Regions from separate parts of the Homo sapiens genome. Here region 2 is linked to region 1. The links are contacts of gene promoters, found by promoter capture Hi-C in human tissues and cell types (Jung and others, 2019). All regions are on one chromosome and are shown on one strand. The core of a region is centred on a gene start or on the middle of the fragment in contact, and the rest is flanking DNA. Distances in the headings are between cores, read along the strand shown.

Region 1 (5,550 bases), core at 1,473-3,972:
TATTTATTTATTTATTTATTGAGACAGGGTCTCATTCTGTTGCCCAGGTTGGAGTGCAGTGGTGCAATCTCAGTTTACTGCAACCTCCACCTCCTGCCTCAGCCTCCTGAGCACCTGGGACTACAGGGGTGTGCCACCATGCCAGCTTAATCACCTTCTTTAAATAAAATCCAAGCTCCTCACTACCGCCTACAGGTCCTTCTCGGTGGTCCAGCCCACCTCTCCCTCCATCCAGCCTCCCCTTTAACCATGACACTCTGGCCAAGATGACCTCTCTTCTTTTGTTATTGTTTTTGTTGTTGCTTTGAGATGGAGTTTCGCTCTTGTTGCCCAGGCTGGAGTGCAACGGTGGGATCTTGGCTCACTGCAACCTCCGCCTCCCAGATTCAAGCGATTCTCCTGCCTCAGCCTCCCGAGTAGCTGGGATTACAGATGTGCACCACCACACCTGGCCAATTTTTTTATTTTTAGTAGAGACGGGGTTTCACCATGTTGGCCAGGCTGGTCTCAAACTCCCGACCTCAGGTGATCCATTCGCCTCGGCCTCCCAAAGTGCTGGGATTATAGGCATGAGCCACCGCACCTGGCTGTCTCTTCTGTTCAGTTGTTTTTTTTTTTTTTTTTGAGACGGAGTCTCGTTCTGTCGCCCAGGCTGGAGTGCAATGGTGCAATCTTGGCTCACTGCAACCTCCACCTCCCGGGTTCAAGCGATTCTCCTGCCTCAGCCTCCCAAGTAGCTGGGACTACAGGTGCATGCCACCACGCCTGGCTAATTTTTTGTATTTTTGGTAGAGATGGGGTTTCACCGTGTTAGCCAGGCTGGTCTCGATCTCCTGATCTTGTGATCCACCTGCCTTGACCTCCCAAAGTGCTGGGATTACAGCGTGAGCCACTGCACCTGGCCTGTCTCTTCTGTTTTTTGAACATGCTGTGTTTTCCTGCCTCTGGGTCTTTGCACAGGCCTTTTCCTCTGCCTAGAACAGAATTGTAAGCCCTGTGGGGGCAGGAACTATGTCTGGTTTTTTTTGGCTCTATAGCCCCCAACATTTATCCTGGTAAACAAGTATGCAATAAATGCCAGCTGAAACAGGTCTTTATAAGTTTTTTTTAAGTTTTTTTTTTTTTTTTTTTTTTTTTGAGGAGTCTCACTCTACCACCCAGGCTGGAGTGCAGTGGTGCGATCTTGGCTCACTGCAACGTCTGCCTCCCAGGTTCAAGCGATTATCTAGCCTCAGCCTCCCGAGTAGCTGGAATTATAGGTGTCCCCTGCCACACTCGGCTAATTTTTGTATTTTTAGTAGAGACGGGATTTCACCACGTTGGCCAGGGTGGTCTCAAACTCTTGACGTTAGGTGATCTGCTCGCCTCCGCCTCCCAGAGTGCTGGGATTGCAGGCATGAGCCACCACGCCCAGTTTTATAAGTAATTCTTGAATAAATGTGCCTGAGCCTTGTCTATTTTTTTTTTTTTTTTTTTTGAGATGGAGTCTCGCTCTGTCACTAGGCTCGAGTGCAGTGGCATGATCTTGGCTCACCGCAACCTCTGCCTTGCGGGTTCAAGCCATTCTCCTGCCTCAGCCTCCTGAGTAGCTGGGACCACAGGCGCCTGCCACCATGCCTGGCTAATTTTGTTTGCATTTTTAGTAGAGACGGGGTTTCGCTGTGTTAGCCAGGATGGTCTCCATCTCCTGACCTCATGATCTGCCCCCCTTGGCCTCCCAAAGTGCTGGGAATTTTTTTTTTCTTTTTCTTTTTCTTTTTTTCTGAGACAGAGTCTTGTTCTGTTGCCCAGGCTGGAGTGCAGTGGCCCGATCTCGGCTCACTGCAACAGCCGCTTCCCAGGTTCAAGTGATTCTCCTGCCTCAGCCCTCTGTGAAGCTGGGACTATAGGTGCGCGCCACCACGCCCTGCTAACTTTTTTTTTTTTTTTTTTTTTTTTTGAGATGGAGTCTAGCTCTGCTGCCCAGGCTAGAGTGCAGTAGCCGGATCTCGACTCACCGCAACCTCCGCCTCCCGGGTTCAAGCGATTCTCCTGCCTCAGCCTCCTGAGTAGCTGGGATTACAGGTGCGTGCCACCACGCCCAGCTAATTTTTGTATTCTTAGTAAAGATGGGGTTTCACCATGTTGGCTAAGCTGTCTCAAACTCCTGACCTCGTGATTTGCCTGCCTTGGCCTCCCAAAGCGCTGAGATTACAGGCATGAGCCACCGCGCCCGCCCAATTTTTCTATTTTTAATAGAGAAGGTGTTTCGCCATGCTGGGCAGGCTGGTCTCAAACTCCTGACCTCAGGTGATCCTCCCGCCTCGGCCTCCCAAAGTGCTAGGATTACAGGCGTGAGCCACTGCTGGCCTAAAAGATGCTTCTGGAGTAGGAGGCATTGGGCCTGGCTGGAAGGTTTGCGTCTGCAAAGGCCTGAAGAGAACATCCCAGGTGGGAGAAACAGCAAGGAGGGGAGGTGTGGAGGAGGCAGGGAGACCCTGTTCTTGGGACTACTGTCTGCAGAGGGTCTCCAGAGGCAGGACCCCGGTAGGGACACTGATGCAGGAGGCGCTCTGCAGTGCCTCCCCCCAATCTGTGGGCCGGGGTGCCCCCAGGGACGCAGGCTGTGCGCTCCCACGCCCTGCCGAAGCAGGACGTTCCCACGCTGGGGCGGCCCCGAGAAAGGCTGTGGGGCGGGCCGGGGGCGGGCGCCCGCACTCAGGTCCCTCCGCAGCGGGTTCTCAGTTGCTCGCTGGGCAGACCCAGGTCGCGCTCCCACTGCCGAGCCCGCGAGGTGAGTGAGTTGGGGGAGGACCCCGCCACCCAAGCCCGCGCGGGTCAGGGGCGCGGCTCGGTCTCCTGCCTTCGCCGCTGGGTCACGCCCCAGTGGTCCCTGTCTTAGAGGGTTGGGGGGCTTCTTGTAGGTTAGAGTTGAAGACTCCTGGGGAGTCTGCATATGTGTGCCATCTCTTTCCCCAAATATAGATTACATCCTCCCTCTCTTGATATGTGGAGCTCTCCCACCCACTAATCATAATCACTGGCCGGAGCCCCTCTTTTCCAGAAGTGTGGGCCGCCCCCTCCCACTTATCACCTGTAGTGTGCCCCCTCCCTCACTCTATTTGTTGGGTGCCCCTCTCTCTCCCTAGATGTGGGACTCCCCTTCTTTTCCCCAGATGTGTGTCTCCCTCCCTCTGACCCAGTTAAGTCCCCATCCTCTAAAGCCCCTCCCCACCACCATGGATGCCAAACCCTGAGTCTTCCCTGGGGGTGGGAGACTGGGCTCAGCCAGACTGGCTAAGCCCAGTCCCCACCCCAACCAGATCCAGCAGAGCAGGCCTGTGTGCACGTAGGCAGCCAATTAGGGGGGAAGGGGTGGGGGCCAGACCGTCTGTCTGTTCTGCCGGTGCAGGGGCCTCTGGCCCCTGCAGGGAAGAGAGACTCAAGAACTGCTCCCTCTCCACCTGGACCCCACCCAGCTTCCTCTGGGGAGCAAACAAGTGAGCGGGGTTCTCCAATCTGGCCAGACTGAGCTGGGGCTGGCACCAGAACCCAAGCCCTCAGCCTCAAACTCTTCAGACCCTGGCCCAAGACTTAGGCCTCCTCCCACTTCTCAGATGGTGAATTGAGGTCCCAAAAAGGGGCTTCAAAGGTCTAGGACCCCCATTGGCCCCCCGCTGGGGATATCAGACAAAATTAGAAGGGTCAAGGGCATGAGGGTGACCTTGAAACACTGGGACACCCCTACCACTACCATACCAGTGGAAAAGGATTTTTCCATCTGGCCCTGCGGTTTGGGGGCAGAGGGTGATGTGGGGGCAGAACTCATCTATACCTTCACGCCCCCAGATGCTCCCCAGAGCTGCCTGGAGCTTGGTGCTGAGGAAAGGTGGAGGTGGAAGACGAGGGATGCACAGCTCAGAAGGCACCAGTGAGACCTGGACTCCTTCCTCCCTGCCTAACTCCAGAGATAGGGGCAGGGGTCCCCTCTGCAGGCTGCCCCCTTTGCCCTTCCATGCCACCCTGGGCCTGTTCCTACCACACTTCCCATGTTCCCATGATCCCACTCCTTGGTCCAAGGTCAAGTTTCTCCAGGAAATGGAGTGCGCGGGGTGAGCAGACAGTGGTCATCTCCATTCCAAGCTTCCTTAGGAGCCAGCCCCCAAGCCTCAGGCCCCTAGACCTTTTGTTCTGAGGTGGAGGATGCTGACAGAACCTTGGACCCTGATTCCTCCTTTCCAGACCCTAGTTTCAATGCTAGTAAGAAGAAAGAGACCTAAAGTAGGAGAGACTTCAGCCAGATAGCAGAAGGGCCTTGCTGACCCATGGAGAATAACAAAGATAACATTTATTGAGCCCTTACTAGTACCCCAAGCTATTATAAACCTCCTTTTTTTTTTTTTTTGAGATAGAGTCTTGCTCTGTCGCTCAGGCTAGAGTGTTCAGTGGCGCAATGTCGGCTCACTGCAACCTCCGCCTCCTGGGTTCAAACAATTCTCCTGACTCAGCCTCCCGAGTAGCTGGGATTATAGGTGCCCACCACTGCGCCCGGCTAATTTTTGTATTTTTAGTAGAGGAGAGGTTTTACTGTCTTGGCCAGGCTGGTCTCGAACTCCTGACCTCGTGATCCACCCGCCTCAGCCTCCCAAAATGCTAGGATTACAGGCATGAGCCACCAAGCCCGGCCACCTTCTTTATTAATATAGTTAGAGATAGGGTGTCCCAAGGGCAGCCTGGACTCAGCTCCCTCCATTGTGTCTGCAGCCCGTGGTGGGGGGAAGATGTCCCCCTACACCAACTGCTATGCCCAGCGCTACTACCCCATGCCAGAAGAGCCCTTCTGCACAGAACTCAACGCTGAGGAGCAGGCCCTGAAGGAGAAGGAGAAGGGAAGCTGGACCCAGCTGACCCACGCCGAAAAGGTGGCCTGTAAGTGTCAGGGTGGGGCTGGCTGGAGAGAGTGGGTTGGGGGCTGACTTTGGAAAGAATGGCCTGTCAGGGATCAGAGGGCAGAGAGAGGCCCCCAAGACAGCCAGAAACCTCCAAACACCTGAGGGGTGAAGTTCATGCCTTTGTTCGTTTCTTTATTCACTCACCTGTTTGTGCATAGCCTGATGCTAGGCAATGCTGGGGACATGAGGTGAATCACCTGGATAGTTCCTGCCCCCATGGTGCCCCCGGTCCCGTGGGGAAAACCAATACAGACTCCAATAATTGTAATACAGAACATGTGGCTAGGGTGAGGTGTGTTCAAGGACTGTGAGATGAAATCTTGGTGGACCTCCCAGAGGAGGGCACATTCCAGCTGGCCTTTAAGGGTGAAGAGGAGGGCACTGCCAGGGAGTGGGAACTGCATGGGGAAGGGTGTCAGAGCAGGAGACTGTGGAGGGCCCTGGAATTGAGTGATGTGGGGGAGATGGGACAGAGAGAGGCAGGTGAGGCGGTTGGGGAGGAGCCCTCTGACCCTGGGAGGCTGGAGGGATGTGTGGTCCCTTGTCATGTCCACCAGAGCATCCCTGAGCTGACCCTTTGAAATTTGGAGCACCTTATTTTCATTCCATGAATGGGAAC
Region 2 (5,569 bases), core at 2,679-5,178, 83 kb before region 1:
GGGAAATTATGTCTCAGGGAGGGATGGTTTTTCCCAAGTCTCCTGTGCAGTCTCCCTCATACTTTATTGGCCAAAACTGTGTCACAGGCCCAAGTCTAAACCATTCACCAGTGAGGGGGATAGGAAACATGATTGGCTTAGAGTTTAAGCTTTAGACTAGTGGAGAATCACCTGCTGGTATTACAAGGCTCAGAGAGGGGAACAGAATCCGTCAGGCATGCTAGCAAGGAAGAGAGGAAGATGCTGCCGGGAGGGCAGGCAACAGTGAGTGCATGCCATGGAAGCACTGGCTCGTGGCGACAGGCAGTCGTTGGGGGAGACTGGGGGAGATTCCACTCAGGGGATCAAGAAACAGCTGTCTTTCTCGTGACTCACTCTACCACTGCGGACAGCCTTTCTCCCTGCGTTGAGGAGAGCTTCATGGCCACAAACAGCTCCTGAATTCTGTGGTCCCAGCTTAGTGACCCCAGAGGAAAACAGGTTTCTCCCAGCTTTGGCCTGAATAAACCTACAAGACCTGGCCTGGCCCATGAGCCAGACACTCCCACTGGAGAGATGGAGGATCGTGATGGACAGGCCAGGGTCACTGCCCTCTCCAGGGCCTGGGGGCAGAGTATTGGAATTGGCAGCCCCCGAGAACCAAGTGTACACGGGGAGGGCATTTCTCCAGAGCAAGGGAACAGATGCTGGGCCAGCCAGAGCAACAGCTATTCCCCAGTGCCTTGATGGTTGAGCCTGGGGGTGTGTAAGCCCAGAGAACCCAGCCAGGGTGTCAGGAAAATCTTTTCTGGGTCATGAAGGATGAATACACATTTCCCAAGCATACAGGGGCAATATGGGCATTTGAAAGATAATGTACAGCTTCAGCAAAGGGCTGGAGGCAGGAAGGTGCATGGAGGGGCCTGGGAGCAGAGAATCAGGGAGTGGGCATAGCTGAGTTCAGGGAAAAGAGGCTGGAAAGAGGTGGGCAGAGGCCAGATTTGGGAAGCCAAGGATGCCACTCTAAGGAGCTTGGACACTGCCCCGTAGGCCACTGGAAGACTCCGAGCAGGGAAGTGGTGCTGTCATATTTGGTTTCTGATACTTAGGGTCTGGTTTTCTGGGCTAGGGAGAAGACCCACTGCCTTCTACTGCTAGGACTAGTGCTCAGTGGCAGAAAGGCAGAACAGTGAAGTGCTCATATGCTGACATCAGGCTGCCTGGACTTGAATCTCAGCTCTGCCACTTGCTGACCGTGTGGCCTTGGGGAGAAGACTTGTCCTCTCTGAGCCCTGGTTTCTAGAACTGTAAAATGGTGACAATAGTCTCTGCCACTCAAAATTGAATGGTACCAGGATTGAGAGAGAAAATCTGTAAATCACTGCGTTGTACATTCAAGGCAGGAAGAGGCAGGCAGGGCAAGGGTACCTATCCATGTATTAGGGAAGCACAAGCTTATTCAGAATCCCTGTGCACGCACCTCTGTGTACCTGTTGTTGGCCAGATGAAGGTTGCAGTGAGCCAAGATCACACCACTGCACTCCAGCCTGGGTGACAGAGTAAGACTCCGTCTCAAATATATATGTATATATGTATAAAGAAATAAAAATTAAATGGCCAGGCGTGGTGGCTTACGCCTGTAATCCCAGCACTTTGGGAAGCTGAGGTGGGCAGATCACAAGGTCAGGAATTCGAGACCAGCCTGACCAACATGGTGAAACCCTGTCTCTACTAAAAATACAAAAATTAGCCAGGCATGGTGGCGCATGCCTGTAATTTCAGCTACTCAGGGGGCTGAGGCAGGAGAATCACTTGAACCCGGGAGGCAGAGGTTGCAGTGAGCCGATATTGCGCCACTGGACTCCAGCCTGGGCAACAGAGCGAGACTCCATCTCAAAAAAAAAAAAAAAAAAATGTTGGCCAGAGCTGACCCCCTACCTGCAAGTAAGGAATTCAAGGAACAGGATTTTCCTGATTGGCTTAGTCTTGCACCACACTTATCACCTGGGAAGGCTGCCTAACACAAAACCAGGACTGGATTAGTAAAGAAGGCATGAGGTAGCAGTTAACTGTGTACAAATCATCTAATCTTCACTATCACCCTGAGGGGTCAGTTCTGTTGTCTACCCGTTTCACAGGTGACAAAACTAAGGCAGGTAAGTAACCTGTGCAGAGCACAGAACTAGGATTCAGACCTACAGACCCACAAGTCAGCCTCTAAGGCCCACTTATAACTGCTCTTCTGCTTGCAAGGCCCTATGGATGAAATCCAGTTATAACCTCCTTTTGCTATAACTAGACACAGAGGGAGGCGTTTCTCCCTAATCTGTATTTATCCAGACAAGCTGTCCAGCAAGATTTCTGAGTGAGGGGCTTTAAGGAAGCAATCTGCGGGTGTGTAGCCTTTTCTCCCTCAGCAAATACAGAAGGAGCTTATAGCCCGGGCTCACCCTGCTTCAGAACAAGGGCCAACATCTGTCCATACCCCTGTTATAGTGAGATGGGAAACCTTGTAGATGTTGGCACTGTGTGGCTCTTTTCTTTTATATACTGGGCTTTAGGGTCAATCCCATTTAACCAAAGGGTTCAATAGCTATAAAAAGGCGTTGAAATTGTATGGTTATTTGAGTTATAGCTCAGTAAAGGCATTAAATCTTCAGCCTAGATGACCCTATTCCTCCCCACTCTAACCAGCTGTGACTCCAGATGGAGACATTGCCCTGCATCCTCTCACGTCCCCATCCCCCACATCCCACCCAGAAACAAATGTGTGAGTTTCATACAACAAGAATGGGGGGTTAGGAGTCAAAGTAAGCTGGGAATACAAAAATGGGGCGGGCGTCTAAAATCCCAGCTACTCAGGAGGCAGGAGAATCACTTGAGCCTAGGAGACAGAGGTTGCAGTGAGCCAAGATCGTGCCACTGCACTCCCGATTACAGTCCTCATTGCCCTGGGCAATAGAGCAAGCCCCGTCTCAAAAAAAAAAAAAATACAAAGTAGGCCGGGAGCGGTGGCTCACGCCTGTAACTCCAGCACTTTGGGAGGTCGAGGCGGGAGGATCACGAGGTCAGGAGATCAAGACCATCCTGGCTAACACGGTGAAACCCCGTCTCTACTAAAAATACAAAAAATTAGCTGGGTGCGGTGGTGGGCGCCTGTAGTTCCAGCTACTTGGGAGGCTGAGGCGGGAGAATGGCATGAACCCAGGAGATGGAGCTTGCAGTGAGCCGAGATTGCGCCACTGCACTCCAGCCTGGGTGACAGTGCGAGACTCCGTCTCAAAAAAAAAAAAAAATGTAAACTGGGCTCCAGCTGACTCCTCACATTCCCGCCTCCCGCTTCAGTGGTGTTTCCCCAGGATCTGCTGGAGAAAGGCCTCGAAGCAAACAACTTTGCCATGCTGGGACTTGGAGATGTCGTCATTCCAGGTGAGCCTGCTGGTGTGGGGGCTATGTGAAAGGGGTGGAGAGGGTATTCCCCGGAGCAAGGGGATTACTGCTAAACAGACAGGCTTACCAGCTGAGAAAGAGAAAAGGTAAGGCTGGATCAGGCCAGGGATTGGTGAAGGGTTCCCCCTTAACATCCGTTTACGGAGGGCCAGTCAGGTGCCATGCCCCAAGCTGGGTCCTGGTCAGGTGTCAGTGAACAAGACTGTCTTCACAGAGCCTCTGGTCTAGGTGAGCAGATGTTGCTCAAGAACTACAAAAGTAAAAGTCTAATGACAGATTGAGGTACACTCTGAAAAAGCACGTTTCATGACAATCTTAACAGACTGGACCCCTGTCACACACACCCACACATACACATACCCCTTCCCAGCATCTGCAAGCATCACAGATGTACCAGAATTGCCCTAGCCCCCTTGCTCCTCCTCCCTGTGCCAAGACATCTCCAGGGAGAACACACACATGGGCTCCTGTCTGCACTCTCAGCAGAGGAGCATGTGCGTGCACACCTGCTTATCTGCAGAGGCTGGCCTTTGAGCCCCTGGATCTGCGTGTGGGTTCTAGTCAGTGTGTCTGTGGGTATGGACACGGGCCCTGTCCACAATCCAAGCAGGATAGCACATCCTGCGCAACCACAGCCTGGCCTCACTTTGGGGCAGGAGCAGCTCAAACTACCAGTCAGGAAAGAGACTAAGGGCAAAGCTGAGCTGCTGAAGTGGCTGAGGCTCGGGTGTGTCTGCTTATCTGGGCCCAGTTGTGGGGGCAGTGAACCCAAGGGACATACTTGTCTTCCTAGCCTCAGAGTGAGAGGGTTAGAAGCTTGCTTAAAAGAAGGTTTTAGCTGGGCACAGTGGCTCACACCTGTAATTCCAACACTTTGGGAAGCTGCGTGGGGAAGATCACTTGATGCCAGGAGTTCAAGACCAGTCTGGACAACATAGCAAGACCTCATCTCTACAAAAAAAAAAAAAAATTAGCCAGTCGTGGTGGCTCATGCCTGTAGTCCCAGCTACTCTGGAGGCTGAGGTAGGAGGATCGTTTGAGCCCAGGAGTTCAAGGCTGCAGTGAGCTATGATTGTGCCACTGCACTTCAGCTTGGGTGACAGAGTGAGACCCTGTCTCTTAAAGAAGGAGGTCTGGCCTGGGCAAATTGTGAGACCATATATATATATAAAATTATTATTTCTCCTTTTTTTTTTTTTTTGAGACGGAGTTTTGCTCTTGCCCAGGCTGGAGTGCAATAACGCGATCTCGGCTCACTGCAACCTCTGCCTCCCTGGTTCAAGCGATTCTCGATTCTCCTGCCTCAGCCTCCCAAGTAGCTGGGATTATAGGCATGCACCACCACGCCCGGCTGATTTTGTATATTTAGTAGAGATGGAGTTTCTTCATGTTGGTCAGGCTGGTCTCAAACTCCCGACCTCAGGTGATCCACCTACCTCGGCCCCCACAAAGTGCTGAGATTACAGGCATGAGCCACCACGCCTGGCCGACCCCGTCTATATTTTTTAAAAGAAGAGGAATTATTTTAAAGCAGCAGATTAAAGGCTGACTTACTTTCCAGGGTAGGATATTATAGCAATTCTGATCACCTAGGGTGATACAGGCACTTCTATTTGTGACAGTTGCATTTTGTGACACATGGAGGTGACACAGAGGCTTTCCCTGTTTTACCAGTGAGGAAACTGAAGCTCAGAAGTAAAGGGAATGATACAAATTCACACACTAGTAAGCAACAGGGCCAGGACTCAGACCAGCACTGTCCAACTGCAAAAAAGGCTACGCTGTCAGAACTGCTCCTTACAGCAGCACTAGCAGTAATAAGACGGTAATCACAACAGCTACCATTTATCAAGCACCTGTCGTGTACCAAGAATGGTGCTAGGTGGCCGGCCGGGCACGGTGGCTTAAGCCTGTAATCCCAGCACTTTGGGAGGCTGAGGCGGGTGGATCATGAGGTCAGGAGATCGAGACCATCCTGGCTAACATGGTGAAACCCCGTCTCTACTAAAAATACAAAAATTAGCCAGGCGTAGTGGCGGGCGCGTGTAGTCCCAGCTACTCGGGAGGCTGAGGCAGGAGAATGGCATGAACCCGGGAGGTGGAGCTTGCAGTGAGCCAAGATTGCACCACTGCACTCCAG

Evidence for each region. The method cuts DNA at HindIII sites, captures the fragments that hold promoters and counts their contacts. A contact is called where the count stands out against the background at its distance.
Region 2: a contact is called between a fragment that was not itself captured here and the fragment with the promoter of COX4I2 in region 1, in 5 of the 25 tissues and cell types used here (H1 embryonic stem cells, IMR-90 fibroblasts, aorta and 2 more).

Annotation. Positions count from the first base shown.
Region 1 is chr20:31,635,190-31,640,739 of GRCh38, forward strand. COX4I2 (cytochrome c oxidase subunit 4I2) reads left to right here and starts at 2,723. Exons shown (of 5, transcript NM_032609.3): 1 at 2,723-2,773; 2 at 3,829-3,910; 3 at 4,744-4,908. The coding sequence starts at 3,829. RefSeq lists a silencer at 2,644-2,783. The HindIII fragment of the contact is 12,374 bases long and covers 1-5,550 here.
Region 2 is chr20:31,551,422-31,556,990 of GRCh38, forward strand. It overlaps HM13 (histocompatibility minor 13), which reads left to right. Exons shown (of 13, transcript NM_178581.3): 8 at 3,325-3,408. Among named protein-coding and RNA genes, the nearest start is that of MCTS2, 6.8 kb to the left of the region's middle. RefSeq lists an enhancer at 3,329-3,828. The HindIII fragment of the contact is 6,275 bases long and covers 792-5,569 here.